Linked DNA regions of Homo sapiens: all the other regions are linked to region 2. The links are contacts of gene promoters, found by promoter capture Hi-C in blood cells and fetal thymus (Javierre and others, 2016). All regions are on one chromosome and are shown on one strand. Each heading gives the region's core, a stretch centred on a gene start or on the middle of the fragment in contact. The rest is flanking DNA. Distances are from core to core; before and after follow the strand shown. Region 1 has its middle 360 kb from the start of NR5A2. Region 2 holds the start of ZNF281 (zinc finger protein 281). Region 3 has its middle 350 kb from the start of NR5A2.

Evidence for each region. The method cuts DNA at HindIII sites, captures the fragments that hold promoters and counts their contacts. A CHiCAGO score of 5 or more calls a contact.
Region 1: a contact is called between a fragment that was not itself captured here and the fragment with the promoter of ZNF281 in region 2, in 1 of 17 cell types (total B cells). The highest score is 5.1, in total B cells.
Region 3: a fragment that was not itself captured here is called in contact with the fragment with the promoter of ZNF281 in region 2 in 1 of 17 cell types (M0 macrophages); the score reaches 5.2 in M0 macrophages.

The regions. Positions count from the first base shown.
Region 1 is chr1:199,661,409-199,665,139 of GRCh38, reverse strand. No RefSeq gene overlaps it. Among named protein-coding and RNA genes, the nearest start is that of NR5A2, 360 kb to the left of the region's middle. The HindIII fragment of the contact is 1,662 bases long and covers 768-2,429 here.
Region 2 is chr1:200,408,296-200,412,407 of GRCh38, reverse strand. It overlaps ZNF281 (zinc finger protein 281), which reads left to right and starts at 2,372. Exons shown (of 2, transcript NM_001281293.2): 1 at 2,372-2,462; 2 at 2,685-4,112. The coding sequence starts at 2,703. RefSeq lists enhancers at 512-1,118, 1,794-1,843, 1,390-1,967, 1,968-2,545, 2,546-3,123 and a silencer at 2,184-2,363. The HindIII fragment of the contact is 20,575 bases long and covers 1-4,112 here.
Region 3 is chr1:199,678,128-199,681,928 of GRCh38, reverse strand. No RefSeq gene overlaps it. Among named protein-coding and RNA genes, the nearest start is that of NR5A2, 350 kb to the left of the region's middle. The HindIII fragment of the contact is 827 bases long and covers 1,936-2,762 here.

The DNA.
Region 1 (3,731 bases), core at 349-2,848, 750 kb after region 2:
TACTCATTTTACCTGAGAGAAAAAAAATTAGTTTTTTCCTTAAGAAGTGTAAGAATTGCAATTAGATCAATACAAATTTAAACTAAGTGAAAAACGTTTGAAAGATCTATAAACAGCATTTGCCTAGAATAATTTGCCATATGTTAACCATAATGCTTGCATAAAACTTTATAAGGTGTCACCTGCTTTCCAAGAAATAGAAAATGCTCTGTAGATGTTATCTCAATTAAGACCACCAGTTAAAGAAGGAAAAAAGATACTTCTTAAAAGAGAAAACTAAATGATAAAACATTTGAAATAATGTCTTAATATTTTAGTATCTCTGAAACTTAGGATAGTGCAATGCACAGAGCAGATATTTAATAAACATGCATTGAAGATAAGAAAAGCAAATCCACATAAGAAATGCCTGGTCATTGAACAAGTTAATACTGATCTAAAAAGTTAATACTGATTATGAAAGTAGATTATCCTACTATAATTTAAGTTCTTTGATTTTTGAAAACAAGAATTTGTTAATCTTTTTTTGCAAAAACATATTAATGCTTTTTAGCTACATCTACTTCTAGGACATGAAAACCCACAGTGATTCCTTGTTGTGCCTGCAACAAGCCCTATGGATGAGCTAAGCTCTCTAGTACACTGTGCTTAGCTGAAAAGGAAGCAGGTGATGAAGAGATTGAGGCATAAGAGGAACATCAATCTCCCCCACCCCCATAGTTAGAAAATCCATTTTTTACACACTGATTTAATTATAGACCAAAGCTTTAATTGTAAGTCTATCTTCAATCAATTTCTTCACCTACTTATTGGTGGCCCGTCATGATGCAGGCTGCAGTACATGGTGGCATGGTAGTTAGGTGGCCTGCCTGAGGATGAGCCTCACTTATTTGTTTTACTATCTGGGTGACTTTGGGCTACTTGTTCAACTATTTTGTCTTATTCTCCTTATCTGTAAAATGAGGACAATGATAATGCCTATATCACCCAGTAGGATTAAGTGAGTTATACTATGCAAAGCATGCCAGTCCTGCTGGGGCGTAGTAAGTGGTATATCTGTGTTTGTCAAATTAAACAATTGCAAACTGAGAATAATTATATTATGCAGCTCTCATGTTTTGAAGGTTGATAAAAGAATTAAAGTATAAATTTCTACATACTTGTCTGATAGCATGATTTTTAGTATATTATTGTTATTATATGTAAAATATAATGCTGGGCTGGCTGTAAGTGATCTAGACAACAGTTCCTGTGCTCAGGGAGACTGTCCTATAGAAAGTGCAGTGTGGTCACTCATGTATTTCTCTTGTCCAAGAGAGACAATGGAAGGGCTTCAGGAAAGTAACAGAACCTGGCCCTTCAGAGATTACCTGGAATCAGATTAAGTAAAGATGTACTATGGGAGGCAGTATTTGGAATGGGTCTTAACAGATAGATTTTGAGGAGAAACCAGGTGGAAAGTATTTCATTTTAGGAGAGTTATACACACAAATATGCATATATTGTGAATTTGATTTTAGAAATAATGAAGAGTTACTAACAGTTGTTTTAGATTTAGGATTATCTTGATTGTATTTAAAATTAGAGAGGGAATTGGGTTATGTATAGGTAGAGATTTATGTAGTTTATACAAGCTGAGTTACCCAGAGCCCAGGATAGGGACTCAAATATTTATTGACTGCCTATAATCATGCCACACTAGTAAATACTGAAATTATAATGATAAATATTATGTATTGTTTTCTTACTAGATAACGAGCAGAGTGTTAGCAAGTTTACGTATATTTTATCATTTTTCCCCATGATAATCTCACAAAGATAGATACCAGTATTGTCTAAATTTTATGACTGAGGAAACCACTGAGCCTTAGAGGGGTTAAGTAACTTGTTCATAGTGACAAAACTAGTAAGTAATGTAACCAGAATTTTCTTACTGGAGGACAAGTTACTATTAATAATTTTAATATGCTGTGTCACAAAAGGCATAAAGCTATAAAGACATTTTAGTTGAGATGATAGCACTGGGCAGAAGGATATGGTGTTGATGCATAGCTTTAAATAATGTCAAAACAGAACAGAAGTTGATATGAAAGATATTTGTTTGGTGGAGAGGATAGATGGGGTAGAGATTGTGGGGGACTAGAGAGGGATTTTCTGGGATGCTGTTGATGTTCTGTTTCTTGATCTGCACATGTCACATGAACATGTTAAATGCTTTTCATTAAGCTGTTCACTTAGGATTAATAACTTTTCTGGATGGATTTTTATACTTCACTTAAAGGGTTTATAAAGAAATACATGTTTGATGTCCAGGTTTGCTAAAGAGGCTCACTAAAATCAGTTAAGAAACATTAAGAAAACTCACAGAAACATACACACACACACAATTTTTGTCTACAACTCCATCTCTGCTTTACCCAGGAGAAGCTTAACTTCGGATCAGGAGATGTGAACAGCAAATCTCTTCAAACTTTTAAAAATGGAAATGATATAACATATCTTCCACAGGGTGAAAGTGTAGATCAAATGAGATTTAATGAGACAACATAGAAATAAGATTCCCGGTGTGCATCCTGCAAATGTCCTTTCGTGAAGATCACAAGAATAGGCTCTTGAATACTAGTAGGTGGAGCATTCATGTTAGAAAATTATTTCAAAATTCCCCTTTAGGATAAAATACATAATTTATGCTTCATCTCCTCCTGTGCCTCTATATTAAATATTCATTGTCTTTGACCCATACGTTGTTATTGCTTTAAAAAATTCAGTAAAATATTATCACCTGGAAGGGCATTGGAGTATAAAATCCAAACAAAACTGGTACCTCTGCACTTGTAGAAAACTATGAAATATAATATAGCACATATGATATACATATTTGTTGATTCATTCCAAGAAAATGAGAAAAGAGCTGAAATGTCTTAAAGTGTAGCTACAAACGTGTATAGGAAGGGAAGAGTTTTTTTTTCCCCTATGGATGTTCTATAAAGATTATTTTGGAAAGATGCAGTCTGAGGAAGGTGTGGTAGATAGAAAATTACAAAGAAAAGTTTAGCTGGGTTGCGAAGCTAACATTCTAAAGCATAACAGGGACTGTCTACCTACAGCCTGCAGGCTAAATCCAGCCTATAACCTGTTTTATTTTTTTTTGGAAGCCTGTGAGCTAAGCAATGTTTTTACATTTTTAAGTGGTTGAAAAAATATACTTTTTTTCATGTAAAAATTATATGAAATTCAGATTTCAGTGTCCATAAGTAAAGTTTTACCATTGGGACATGGTCGCGCTCATTTGTTTATATATTGTCTTTGGCATAGTGCAGTAATTGCAACAGAGAACATATGGCCTGCAATGCCCAAAATATTTACTATCTGGCCCTTTTCAGAAAAAGTTTGTGGGTCCCTAATTTAAGGCTCAGTGTTTAGGTCATAGAAAGGCAGTGTGAGTACACTCATAATGTAGTACACTTATGGAAATCATTTTCCCTCCTCTACCTAGTTTATGAAAATGTTCAGAGCTTAAAAATTGTTCTAGCTACATATTGCATTTGAGCCAGTGTTTGAGCACCTCCATGAAGCTTTCTTGGCTCTGACAAGGGAATGATACTTCTTACTCTAAAACCCGAAGCACTTTATATCTGTTATAGTACTTACCATATTTTGCCTAAGACTAACGTTGTCGCTGATGCTTACTTTATTTTCTCAGCTAGATTATTATCTCCTTGGGGAACAGG
Region 2 (4,112 bases), core at 1,123-3,622:
GACTAATATTTTACGACTGCCTTAAGTTTTTGAACTTTCAGTCTTTAACACTTAGCTATTGTAGAAAAAAACAAAAACAAAAACAAAAAAACAACTCAGCCTCTCCTATACTCTCACTCAACAATCAACACAGAAGATTTCTGCGACCAAATGTGTAGGGGTTTCTCCCCACACACCGAGCAAGCAATCAATTCTGCAGCAGACACCACTGGGGTGTCCTCCAATTCAATTCTGACACTACCTACCTGGAGACAGCATCAGATCCCCCAGATTAAGAGCCCAGGCCTACAAGACTGGCCGGCCGCATTTCAGATGCCAATCACAAGCCCCAGGTAGTTTTACCTGTGCTTCTGACTGACCAGCTGTAAATCGGGGTTCCCATGACCCCTTCCTTGGGCTTGATTAATTTGCTAGAGCAGCTCATAGAACCCAGGCAAACACTTACGTTTTCCGGTTTACTATTAAGGACATTACAAAGGCTATCGATGAACACCAGATGAAGAGATGGATGGGGGAAAGTCTGTGGGAAGGGGCGCGGAGCTTCCACGCCCTTTCCGGGTGCGCCATCCTCCTGGAACCTTCACGGGTTCGCTTACAGGAAGCTCTCCAAACCCCGTCCTTTTTTAGGTTTTTATGAAGGCTTCATTACACAGGCATGATTGATTAAATCATTGGCCATTGAAGATCAACTTAACCTTCAATCCCTCTCTCCTCCCCGGAGGTCGGGGGGTGGGACTGAAAGTCCCAAACTCTAATCCTGCCTTGGTCTTTCCGGTGACCAGCCCCCATCCTGAAGCTACCTAGGGGTTGCCAGCCATCATCAGTCGCTTCATTAGCATACAAAAAGACATTTATTACTTTGCAGATTCCAAGGATTTTTAGCAGTTGTATGCCACAAAACGGTTCAAAGTCCAAATATATATTTCACAATATCACAACTATACTTGACAGTATTAAAGTGTCAGTTTAAGTGGTGGAATACTTACATGTTGTTTCATGGGATTAGAAAAAAAGCAATTTCTTCTTATCTCAAAATTCTCATTAAATATTGTCTGTAAAATTTTTAGGGCAGGCTGAGAGAGGTCCATAAGTATTAGTAAATAATCCCTATGGTTTCGATTGTGAAATTTCCCAGAGAATTTATTATTTAATTATGAGAAGTTATTTAGCTAGAAACATTGTGATGTACATGTAACTTCATTAAGAAAACATACTATGTAAATAAGCTGTTGTCATAGTTCTAGTTCTTTTATTTAAAATTTCTCATTTATAAATATCCTTTGCTAGGAAAGTGTCTGGTTTAGATTTCTGCATGCTTAACATGAAATCGAGTGCCTTGTGTACATTAGACACTGAATAAATATTTGTTGTTTGATTTTGTTGATATAACTTTGATTTTAAGATTTTACTTCATAATTTTCCCTTACAAGAAAAATTTCTAAATTTGCAATGAGTTTCTCGGTATTCTGTACTGGCGAGGAAAGAGTTGATCCTAGCAGAGCTCTTAGAATGGCCTGGTGGTTAATTTTTCATAAACAATATAAAGGGCCAGGCATTCATAACGTGGCAAACAGACTGATTAGCCAGGCTAAGGTACGGGGGCATTTAAATAAGATGTAATGATAATGAAGTATGTGTGTGGGCGTGTTTTACAGGACTGCTGCACCTGGATTACGCTCGGTTTCCTCTTCCAGTAGCCTTCAGGAAGGTTGGCAGTAAGACAAGTTTTTTTCTTTTTCTTTTTTTTTTTTTTGTTGCAACGGTACCACTAATTGCGGTTTCAAAGCAGGCTCCTCCCATAAATGCAAAGGATATGCGCCCATTATTAGTGCTTCCAAATTCAAAGGGATAACATAAGCACCTGTTTTAATAAATGTTGAGCATTTGGAGTTGAATGCTTCTTGATAGAATCAAAAGTGCCCTCAATGATCCACTTCTAGGTTTGAATTTTATTTCAAGACCTGGATTGCAAAACCTAGAGTGAAGAAAGCCCTAACATTGAATCCTCAGTTTCCCTCACCTTCTCTTCCAGCCCCTTTCTCTGCATCTCCCACGCCACGCTGTAGTACAGTCCCCCGTAACTTCCCGCCCCTTGGGTTCCACCTCCTGAGCGTCTTTCCCCCAGAAACCCTCAACCACTTTCATCTCCTTCAGTGCAGCCCACCAATCACGCCTGTTCGCCTCGAAAGCCCCTTTTTAGCAGGGCTCCAAATCCCCGCCTCCCCTGCCCTTGCTCCCCCGCCTCCGCCCAACGGCCCCAGTGATTGACAGGCAGGCCGGGCGGAAGCTGCGGCGCAGGCGCCCTGGCTCCTTAGCCCTCCCCTCTGGCCGGGTCGAGGAGTTCCCAGCAGACACTGCGCCGCGGCTGCGCAGTACACGGGAGGCTTTTAATTCCATTGTGGAGAGGACGGCGTTATTTTTATTAACTGGAGGCGACGGCGGCTGCGGCGGCGGCGGGACCCGTAAGTATTGCCGGTGGGTCCAGGAGGGAGAGGGCGAGGCCTGGGGAAGAGTCGCAGGACCATGCGTGCCGGTGCCGGAGGCGACTGGGCTGGGAATTAGTGCTGGGCGCGTTGCGGTCTGGGCGGCGGCGCGGCGGGGTCCTTAGCGCTGCGGTGGTCCCGGCCCGGGGCCCGGTTCCACCTCCTTTCCTCCCTCTTCCCTCTTCCTCCTCCTTTCTTCAGCCAGGCCTCCTCCGGGGTATGAAAATCGGCAGTGGGTTCCTGAGTGGCGGCGGAGGTACCGGCAGTAGCGGTGGTAGCGGCTCCGGCGGCGGTGGTAGTGGCGGCGGCGGCGGCGGCGGCAGCAGCGGCAGGAGGGCAGAGATGGAACCCACCTTTCCCCAGGGTATGGTTATGTTCAACCACCGTCTTCCCCCGGTCACCAGCTTCACCCGGCCGGCGGGGTCGGCCGCCCCTCCCCCGCAATGCGTGTTATCCTCCTCTACCTCCGCAGCCCCGGCCGCTGAGCCCCCCCCTCCGCCAGCCCCGGACATGACTTTCAAGAAGGAGCCGGCGGCGTCAGCCGCGGCCTTCCCCTCGCAGAGGACCTCCTGGGGGTTCTTGCAGTCTTTGGTTAGCATCAAACAGGAGAAACCCGCGGATCCTGAGGAGCAGCAGTCCCACCACCACCATCACCACCACCACTATGGGGGGCTGTTCGCTGGAGCTGAAGAGAGGTCTCCAGGCCTAGGAGGCGGTGAAGGGGGGAGTCACGGCGTCATCCAGGACCTCAGTATTCTCCACCAGCATGTCCAGCAGCAACCAGCCCAGCACCACCGTGACGTATTACTCAGCAGCAGTAGCAGGACTGATGACCACCATGGCACTGAGGAGCCAAAGCAGGACACTAATGTCAAAAAGGCAAAAAGGCCAAAGCCAGAATCTCAGGGAATCAAAGCCAAGAGGAAGCCAAGTGCATCTTCCAAACCTTCTTTGGTTGGAGATGGAGAAGGTGCCATCCTCTCCCCAAGTCAGAAACCTCATATCTGTGATCACTGTAGTGCTGCTTTCCGAAGCTCCTATCACCTGCGGAGACATGTCCTCATTCATACAGGAGAAAGACCTTTCCAGTGCAGCCAGTGTAGTATGGGTTTCATTCAGAAATACCTACTACAGAGACATGAGAAAATTCATAGTAGAGAGAAGCCATTTGGATGTGATCAGTGCAGCATGAAGTTTATTCAGAAGTACCATATGGAGAGACACAAGAGGACACATAGTGGAGAAAAGCCATATAAGTGTGACACTTGCCAACAGTATTTTTCAAGGACTGATAGATTGTTGAAGCACAGGCGCACATGTGGTGAAGTCATAGTTAAAGGAGCCACTAGTGCAGAACCTGGGTCATCAAACCATACCAATATGGGTAATCTGGCTGTGTTGTCTCAGGGAAATACAAGTTCTTCAAGGAGAAAAACAAAGTCAAAAAGCATAGCTATTGAAAATAAGGAACAGAAGACCGGTAAAACAAATGAATCGCAAATTTCAAATAATATAAACATGCAGAGTTACTCAGTAGAAATGCCTACCGTGTCTTCCAGTGGAGGCATAATTGGCACTGGAATAGATGAACTGCAGAAGAGGGTGCCAAAATTGATCTTTAAGAAAGGA
Region 3 (3,801 bases), core at 1,100-3,599, 730 kb after region 2:
TTGTCCCTTTTTGTTTTTAATTTTAGAATTTATGATTCCAAATTATTTTTTATATCCCAAAATACTTAAGGATATATAATTTAGTACAAATTGTTATATTACCATTTCTTCTATGTAACTATTGTATTTAGGGAAGAATTGTCATCAGCTGATTCTTTTGGGTCATATTTTCTGTTTCCTATGTTTAGTAGTTATGCATGAAATTTTTTTTTTCCTATTTCTGTGCACTGTGGACAGAGTCCTAGGACAGGAGCCCTTTTTCTGTCAGTTTAGTGAAATGCAGTGCATTTAATGTATGATACTGGTGCTGGGAAGGGAAGATTTTCTACTTCCTTGCACTGCCCTATCTCCAAGAGGTACCACCTTTTCACTATTAATCTGATTTTCCCAAGAAGCAATGATTCTTTGAGACTGTCACTTCTAATCGTGATCACTTTATAACCCCTTTTCCAAAGACAGTGTTGTGAATGACCAAGTCCCAAACCTTTGTTCAGTTTTTACCATTTAGTGTTAGACTTTCTCTTTTTCTCTTTATGGGACAGTATTTTTTGGTTTCATTTCAGTTCTTTTTCCCACTCTGTCCACTCAAAAGTTTGCAGTTAGTAATGAGAGCTCTGTTGGATTTTTTTTTTTAGTGTACTTATAGGTTATTGAAATTCATGGTATTTTTTTAATCTCTTAGTCTTGTGTGGTTTTATTTGCACTATTTGGTGATTTGATGTTTCCGGGGATAGTGTGTATGGAGACTTGGAATCAAGTGAATGGCATTATCCTAAAGGCTTAGAAACTCCTAGATATCTTTTTGCTATTGATTGCTCATTTGATCTTTTTAGTCATAAAACATACACTGTATGATTACAATATTTCCAAATTCCTGAAACTTCTTGTGGCCCAGCATATAATTTCTGTAGGTGAATACTCCATGTACTACTGAACAGAATATGCATTGTGCCATTGTTGGGTGTAGTGTACTACTGACATTTGTTAACTAGGTTCAATTGTTCAACTGATATCTTTAATATAATTATTGATTTTTTGGACAGTTTTTCTATCAATTCTAGAAAGATAAGAGGTAGCATCTCCAAATGTAATTGTGGATTTGTCTATTTCTTCCTTTATTTCTTTAGTTTTTGCTTTGTGCATTTTGAAGTTTTATTAGATCCATGATATTATTAGGTTTATTTACATTTAGGATTGTTAGTGTTTCTTGATTAATTGACTCCTGATTATTATGAAATGTTCTTTTCAATTCATGGCAATACTTGACTTTTTTTTTTTTTTTTTTTTTTTTTGAGATGGAGTCTTGCTCTGTCACCCAGGCAGGAGTGCAGTGGTACAATCTCGGCTCACTGAAACCTCTGTCTCCGGGTTCAAGCAATTCTCTGGCCTCAGCCTCCCGAGGAGCTGGGACTACAGGCACACACCACTATTCTTGGCTAATTTTTGTATTTTTAGTAAAGACAGGGTTTCACCATGTTGGCCAGGATAGTCTTGAACTCCTGACCTCAAGTGATCCACCTGCCTCAGCTTCCCAAAGTGCTGGGATTACAGGCATGAGCCACCGCGCCTGGCCAGAAATACTTATCTTGAAGTATACTCTGATATTAATATAGGTACTCCAGCTTTCTTATGATTAATAGGTATGTGGTATGATTTCATCCTTTTCTCTTTTAATCATTTTGTACTTTGTACTTTAACCTTTTGTATATTTTGTACTTTTAATAATTTTGCATTTAAAATTTAGTCCTTGGATACAAAATCAGTAGAAAATACATTTTTATTAGTACTCCAGAGAATAAGAATTAACCAGAATTTCTTTTGTTTTGAATTGGTTTTAAGTATGGAATAATTGTCTTTAAAGTTATAAAAAGTGATTAGTGATGTTTATAAAATGTTAGCATTTTTTGCCTTGACAAATAGGTAAGTCCAAAAGCTTTCGGAGAGGCAGGCAGCAGCAAGAACTATTTGAAAAAAAAAATTATTTTTCTGAATTCAATATAGAAATACAAAAAAACCTTAAAACAACAGTTAAATCAAAGATCCATGACAAATGAAATTTAGTGATTAAATATACATATTTTCTGATTTTAACGCTAGTTGAGAGAAGAGAAAATAGCAAGTAGAAGCACAGAATGTGATCATTGGAAGGTACCTGGGAAATTCCTGCTTCATCCATTTAGCAAACTTAGGAGCACAACACATTCCAGTACTAGGATCTTGTGTGAGATTGTGTGAGTTTAGCTCTGCCATTTGATATATTACTACCTGTGGGATCTTGGGTAGATTGTATAATTGCTTTGAGATTGAATTTCTTCTATAAACTGGGGATAATGCTGCCTTTCTTCAGTCTAAGGATTATTATGAAGATAAGTAATAAAAGGAGTACAAAGGACCAAACAAATACAATTTTTTTTTTTTTTTTTTTTTTTGCAGTTGAGAAAAGAGGCACTTGGGGAGGATACACGCTCTAAGATTCTGCAGTTTATAACCAGCAGGCCCAGAGTTTAGGTTTTCAGAATCCTAGTGGTGTGTTTCTTCTGTTATGCCAAAAAGAAGCACATATCAAAAAGGCAAAAAGTATGAGTTGTGGGGATATTGGCATTATCAGTTTGCTTCTGAGGGAAGATAAGCATCACTACTTTCCAGACATTCCTCTGGAAGTGATATAGAAGATGCTGAGGAGTTCAGCATGGTGATGGAAGGAGGCATTTGTAGTAATGCTGAGAACAGAAAAAAGACCTGAGATGGGAAATTTGTAAGCTTGTTTTCAATTGCAGCTTCATTATGTGAATAAACTATACCTAGTTTATTTTTGGTTTAATACAGTAGTGCTTTTATGAAACCATGAAATAATTCTAATCAGTATAAACTTGTGTTTTAAAACTCCTGTAAATCAGTCAAAACGTCATCATGTAAACATCAGTTCTTGAGTCAGTAGTATTGCTGTTTCTGAGCCAGCTTCCCTATTCAAATTCAAATCTACATTGTGTGGTTAGGCAGCTGTAAATAAGACTGCTGTTATATGATGTCACATGATAAAATAAAGTACTTCCAATATCATTAAAAAAATTAAAAAATGAAGTTCATTCTTAAAAACAATAGAGTTGGATTTTGTTATTTTATCCAGTTTCTTAATGCCTGCCTTTTAATTGGAATGTTCAAGACCACTTATGTGTAATTTAAATATCAATATGGTTAAATAAAATCTATTGTCTGCTTTTTTTAAATTTTTCTCACTTTGATGTTGTTGCTGATGTTACTCTTTTTACTTTCTTCCTTTCTCTTTTGCGTGCATATGTCTATATTCCATTTTATATCCTTTATTGGCTTTATATTTAACTGTTTTTAGTGGTGTCCCTAGGGATTAAAATATTCATCTTTAACTTATTACACTCAATTTTCAAATGAGCTATGTCATTTTAAGTAAAATTTAAGAAAATTTGAATTGTATATTTTATTAGTCCATTGTCACACTGCTATAAAGAAATACCTGAGACTGGGTAATTTTTAAAGAAAAGAGGTTTAATTGGCTCACAGTTCTGCAGGCTGTACAGGAAGCATGGCTGTGGGGGCCTCAGGAAACTTATAATCATGGCAGAAGGGGAAGCAGGCACATCTTACATGGCTGAAGCAGGAGGAAGAGAGCAAAGCGGAGGTGCTACACCCTTTTAAATAACCAGATCTCTTGAGAACTCACTTACTATCACGAGAACAGCAAGGGGGAAATCTGCCCCCATGATCCAATCACCTCCCACCAGGCCCCTCTTCCAACACTGGGGATTAAAATTTGATGTGAGATTT